Regions from separate parts of the Homo sapiens genome. Here region 1 is linked to region 2. The links are contacts of gene promoters, found by promoter capture Hi-C in human tissues and cell types (Jung and others, 2019). All regions are on one chromosome and are shown on one strand. Each heading gives the region's core, a stretch centred on a gene start or on the middle of the fragment in contact. The rest is flanking DNA. Distances are from core to core; before and after follow the strand shown. Region 1 has its middle 89 kb from the start of HAND2-AS1. Region 2 holds the start of HAND2 (heart and neural crest derivatives expressed 2).

Region 1 (2,907 bases), core at 234-2,733, 89 kb before region 2:
CAAGACACATAATCGTCAGATTCACCAAGGTTGAAATTAAGGAAAAAATCTTAACGAAAGCCAGAGAGAAAGGTCAGGTTACCCACAAAGGGAAGCCCATCAGACTAACAGCGGATCTCTCTGCAGAAACCCTACAAGCCAAAGAGAGTGAAGGCCAATATTCAACATTCTTAAAGAAAAGAATTTTCAACCCAGAATTTCCTATCCAGCCAAACTAAGCTTCATAAGCAAAGGAGAAATAAAATCCTTAAGAGACAAACAAATGCTGAGAGATTTTTGTGGCCACCCAGCCTGCATTACAAGAGCTCCTGAAGTAAGCACTAAATATGGAAAGGAAAAACCGGTACCAGCCACTGCAGACATACCAAATTGTAAAGACCGTCAACACTATGAAGAAACTGCATCAACTAATGGGCAAAATAACCAGCTAACATCATAATGACAGGATCAAATTTAAACATAACAGTATTAACTTTAAATGTAAAAGGGATAAAGACTCCAATTAAAAGACACAGACTGGAAATTGGATAAAGATTTAAGACCCATCGGTGTGCTGTATTCAGGAGATGCATCCCACGTGCAAAGACACATAGACTCAAAATAAGGGGATGGAGGAAGATCTACCAAGCAAATGGAAAGCAAAAAAAAAGCAGGGGTTGCAATCCTAGTCTCTGATAAAACAGACTTTAAACCAACAAGATCAAAAAAGACAAAGAAGGGCATTACATAATGGTAAAAAGATCAATGCAACAAGAAAAGCTAATGATCCTAAATATATATGAACCCAATATAGGAACACACAGATTCATAAAGCAAGTTCTTAGAGACCTACGAAGAGACTTAGACTCTCACACAATAATAGTGGGAGACTTTAACACCCCACTGTCAATATTAGATCAACGAGACAGAAAATTAACAAGGATATTCAGGACTTGAACACAGCTCTGCAACAAGAAGACCTAACAGACATCTACAGAATGCTCCACCCCAAATCAACAGAGCATACATTCTTCTCAGCACCATGTAGCACTTATTCTAAAATTGGCCACATAATTGGAAGTAAAACAATTCTCAGCAAGTGCAAAAGAATGGAAATTATAACAAACAGTTTCTTAGACCACAGTGAAATCAAACTAGAACTCAGGATTAAGAAACTCACTCAAAACTGCACAACTACATGGAAACTGAACAACCTTCTCTTGAATGACTACTGGGTAAATAATGAAATGAAGGCAGAAATAAAGATGTTCTTTGAGACCAATGAGAACAAAGACACAACATACCAGGATCTCTGGGACACAGCTAAAGCAGTGATTAGAGGGAAATTCATAGCACTAAATGCCCACAGGAGAAACCAGGAAAGATCTAAAATCGACACCCTAACATCACAACTAAAAGAAGTGATGTCCTTCTCTAGAAAGAGAGAAGAACAAACAAATTCAAAAGAAAGAGAAGAAAGAGCAAACAAATTCAAAAGCTAGCAGAAGACAAGAAGTAACTAAGATCAGAGCAGAACCGAAGGAGACGGAGACACAAAAAACCCTTCAAAAAGTCAATGAATCCAGGTGCTGGCTTTTTGAAAGGATAAATAAAATAGATAGACCACTAGCCAGACTAATAAAGAAGAAAAGAGAGAAGAATCAAATAGACAGACAAAAAAATTACCAAGGGGATCTTCATTCCAAGATGGCAGAATAGGAACAGCTCCAGTCTGCAGCTCCCAGTGTGATTGATGCAGAAGATGGGTGATTTCTGCATTTCCAACTGAGGTACCTGGTTCATCTCATTGGGATTCATTGGACAGTGGGTGCAGCCCACGGAGGGTGAGCCAAAGCAGGGCAGGGTGTTGCCTCACCCACGAAGTGCAAGGGGTCAAGGGATTTCACTTTCCTAGCCAAGTGAAGCCATGACAGACTGTACCTGGAAAAACGGGACACTCTCACCCAAATACTGCACTTTTCCCAAGGTCTTAGCAACCGTCAGGCAAGGAGATTCTCTCCCATGCCTGGCTCGGCAGGTCCCACACCCACAGAGCCTTGCTCACTGCTAGCACAGCAGTTTGAAATTGAACTGTGAAGCAGCAGCCTGGCTGCAGGAGGGGTGTCCGCCATTGCTGAGGCTTGAGTAGGTAAACAAAGCTGCCAGGAAGCTCAAACTGGGCGGAGCCCACCACAGCTCAGCAAGGCTTACTGTCTCTATAGACTCCACCTCTGTGGGCAGGGCATAGCCAACAAAAGGCAGCAGACAACTTGTGCGGGCCTAAACGTCCATGTCTGACATCTCAGAAGAGAGAAGTGGTTCTCCCAGCATGGTGTTTGAGCTCTGGAACAGACAGACTGCCTCCTCAAGTGGGTCCCTGACTCCTGTGTAGCCTAACTGGGAGACACCTCCCAGTAGGGGCTGACCAATGCCTAATATAGGAGGGTGCCTCTCTGGGACAAAGCTTCAGAAGGATTAGGCAGCAATATTTGCCGTTCTGCAATATTAGCTGTTCTGCAGCCTCTGCTGGTGATACCCAGGCAAACAGTGTCTGGAGTGAACCTCCAGCAAACTCCAATGGACCTGCAGCTGAGGGACCTGACGGTTAGAAGGAAAACTAACAAACAGAAAGGAATAGCATCAACATCAACAAAAAGGACATCTACACCAAAACCCCATCTGTAGGTCACCAACATCAAAGATCAAAGTTGGATAAAACCACAAAGATGGTGCGAAACCAGAGAAGAAAAGCTGAAAATTCTAAAAACCAGAGTGCCTCTTCTCCTTCAAAGGAAAACAGCTCCTTGCCAGCAAAGGAACAAAGCTGGTTGGAGAATGACTTTGACAAGTTCACAGAAGTAGGCTTCAGAAGGTCAGTAATAACAAACTTCTCCGGGCTAAAGGATCATGTTTGAACCCATCACGAGG
Region 2 (3,028 bases), core at 336-2,835:
ACCGAAGTTGGGCGCCCTCCATTCGCACTGACCTCGCCTTCCTGCCCCAACCACTTTGTCGGCGGTGAGCAAGGAAAGGACTGTCCTTGTGGAGTCCTTCGGGTGGGGATCGCTTTGTGGCCTGCGGCCGGACTCTGCCCGCCTCCAAAGGGCGATGCTCAAGGTGGAGTCTTTGGTCTCCCTTGGGCTAACCTGGCCTGACCAGCGGCGAGCCCCAGGCCGCCCTGTCCCGCGCTGGCGCCGCAGGCCCTCGCCTCCCTCTAATTTACAGCCCGCGGGCTCCTGTTGACACCGTTTTCCACACCGAACTCCTTCGGGTGGAATCTGCATATACACATCAGCCTCCCCTCTCGGCTTGGGGCCAAGCCTGGGGTGATTTCAGCTCCTGCCATTTACCACCCGCCCTCGCCGCACGTGAGCCTTCTCAAGAAGCTCATGCCACACGGGCGCTGCGGCCCGGGTGCCCCGCGGCCCGGTGACTTACAAGTGGAGATCCATTTTCCGTTATAATGCGTTCAAGATCACCAAGGCCAGCAGTCTCAACATCCACGAGCCGTCCTCCCGGCCTGCCTCTTAAACTGGCGTTTAATGGTTCCCCTCCGATAACTAAACCTGCTTTCCACAGATGCCCGCTTTTATGAGGGAGGCAGGAATGCAGAGATATATTTATATGTTTGTTCATAAAAACTGGAAAATAAGCTCTGAACACGCCGTAAAAAATATTCAGTTACTTACCAAACAGGCTAGTTAAACCAGGGGAACACCGATACCAGCCACACTACAGATTCGGGGAATCGAGGTGCCCGCACTTCAAAATCGCCCAAGGTCTTCGTAGGGACTGGTGTCCCTGAAGGATGTGGAAATAACAGCATTTACAATCGGCTTGACATGTTCGCCCGGAGGACTCAGCCGTCATCTCCAAAGTTTGCCGCAATAACGTGAGCCACCCCAAACAGCTCTAACCGGGGTAACTTGGTGGGTAACTCAATAGCCACTGAGACCGGCGTTTCGAGCCTGTAAACGGGTCAAAGAAACACCCTTCTCCAGCCGCTCCTCGTCCCTGCTGGGGCAAAGAGCGCCAGCTCCCAGCCGCGCCTTTGTGGGGGCCCCCACCGCCCGTCACGAGGCTCCCGGCGCCCCTGCATAAAATTGTAAGAGGCTGCCTGCGTATATTTTCTTACCTCGATTACCTACAAAGCACTTCGAAAAGCAATACCTGCGTTTTCTTTCTTTCTTTCTTTTCAACCAGAAAAGAGAGCAGAGTGATACTGTACCTGGTTAGAGATTCTTCAATATTTGAGACTTGGGGGGAAAATATTTTAATAGTGAAGCATCTGTTAAACACTTGCATTATCCTCTGACTGATAAAAAAAGTTTTTTTAACCCTGCCCCCCCCCCCCGCCAAGTTTTAATTATCTTATGGTTATGAGGAGGTAGCCAATCCTGGAAGAGGACCTCGGCAATTAGCAACGTGAACATCAAAAAGTTTTATTGCCGAGAGCTCGAGGCGCCGCCCCTGCCGCCCCGGGATTGGCGTGAGGAGCCTCTGACGACATATATTAACCCGAGCGGCCCTAAAGATGTAGCTGTACATGGAGATCTTGCTGGGAAAATCCGCTTGCTCCCCTCACGTCGTCCAGCCCAGGAGAACCACCGCCGTCACCCCGGAGCTTCCTCGGCCACCGCGCAGAGCCCTCCGAGAGCCCGAGCCGCGGTCTTCGAGCTCCAAGGCTCATTCAGGGCCCCAGATCCTTGCCCCGAAAGGAGAGGATCTGAGAAAATGGATGCACTGAGACCTCTCTGAAAACCCTCCGAGAGAGCGCGAGAGGAGCGAGGACACGTTACTCGCAGCTAAAATCACATTTAAGGACCAAAACAACAACAACCAAAAATTTCATTAAAACAATAAGCGCCCAAGAACCCAGATCGGGCTGGTGGGGGGAGGGGAAGAGGCGGGAAGGGGAGGGTCGCACGGAGGTAGCTTTGCAGTGAGCAGTCGACCCCGCCGCCCCCCGGCACAGCTGGACCGGCTCCTCCAGCCGCGGCTCAGACTCGCCCCTGGATTCCGGGTTAGCTTCGGTGCCAGGACCGCGGCCCGGGCTTGGATTCCCGAGACTCCGCGTACCAGCCTCGCGGGAGCCCCGGCACCTTTGTATGAGCACGAGAGGATTCTGCCTCCGCGCAGCAGCCCGGGAAGCAGGAGCCGAAGCGCGGGCCGTGGAGCAAGGCGGGAACCGGAGGCGGCGGCGGCGGCGGCCAGGGGCGCACGGTGCCAGGACCAGCTCGCCGCGCCCCATGGGGAGCCGGCGGCCGCAGCGCTGCTGAGGCGGGCCCGGCTGGCCAGGCGGGGGGACGGGGCCCGGGCTGCAGCAGCCCCCTCTGCGGCTGCCGGGCGGGCCCGGGCGCCCGGGGGCTGGGGGGTGGGGGGTGGGGGAGGACGCCGAGCGCTGAGGCAGGGGCCCGGGCCGAGGGCGCGGCGGGGCTGCGCGCACGCTGGGGCGCGTGGAGGGGCGCGGAGGGCGAAATGAGTCTGGTAGGTGGTTTTCCCCACCACCCGGTGGTGCACCACGAGGGCTACCCGTTTGCCGCCGCCGCCGCCGCAGCTGCCGCCGCCGCCGCCAGCCGCTGCAGCCATGAGGAGAACCCCTACTTCCATGGCTGGCTCATCGGCCACCCCGAGATGTCGCCCCCCGACTACAGCATGGCCCTGTCCTACAGCCCCGAGTATGCCAGCGGCGCCGCCGGCCTGGACCACTCCCATTACGGGGGGGTGCCGCCGGGCGCCGGGCCCCCGGGCCTGGGGGGGCCGCGCCCGGTGAAGCGCCGAGGCACCGCCAACCGCAAGGAGCGGCGCAGGACTCAGAGCATCAACAGCGCCTTCGCCGAACTGCGCGAGTGCATCCCCAACGTACCCGCCGACACCAAACTCTCCAAAATCAAGACCCTGCGCCTGGCCACCAGCTACATCGCCTACCTCATGGACCTGCTGGCCAAGGACGACCAGAATGGCGAGGCGGAGGCCTTCAAG

The links. The method cuts DNA at HindIII sites, captures the fragments that hold promoters and counts their contacts. A contact is called where the count stands out against the background at its distance.
Region 1: a fragment that was not itself captured here is called in contact with the fragment with the promoter of HAND2 in region 2 in 2 of the 25 tissues and cell types used here (bladder and spleen).

The regions. Positions count from the first base shown.
Region 1 is chr4:173,618,143-173,621,049 of GRCh38, reverse strand. No RefSeq gene overlaps it. Among named protein-coding and RNA genes, the nearest start is that of HAND2-AS1, 89 kb to the right of the region's middle. The HindIII fragment of the contact is 3,637 bases long and covers 1-2,907 here.
Region 2 is chr4:173,528,786-173,531,813 of GRCh38, reverse strand. It overlaps HAND2 (heart and neural crest derivatives expressed 2), which reads left to right and starts at 1,585. Exons shown (of 2, transcript NM_021973.3): 1 at 1,585-3,028. The coding sequence starts at 2,525. HAND2-AS1 (HAND2 antisense RNA 1) reads right to left here and starts at 1,443. Exons shown (of 5, transcript NR_136196.1): 1 at 1,275-1,443; 2 at 736-847. The HindIII fragment of the contact is 12,639 bases long and covers 1-3,028 here.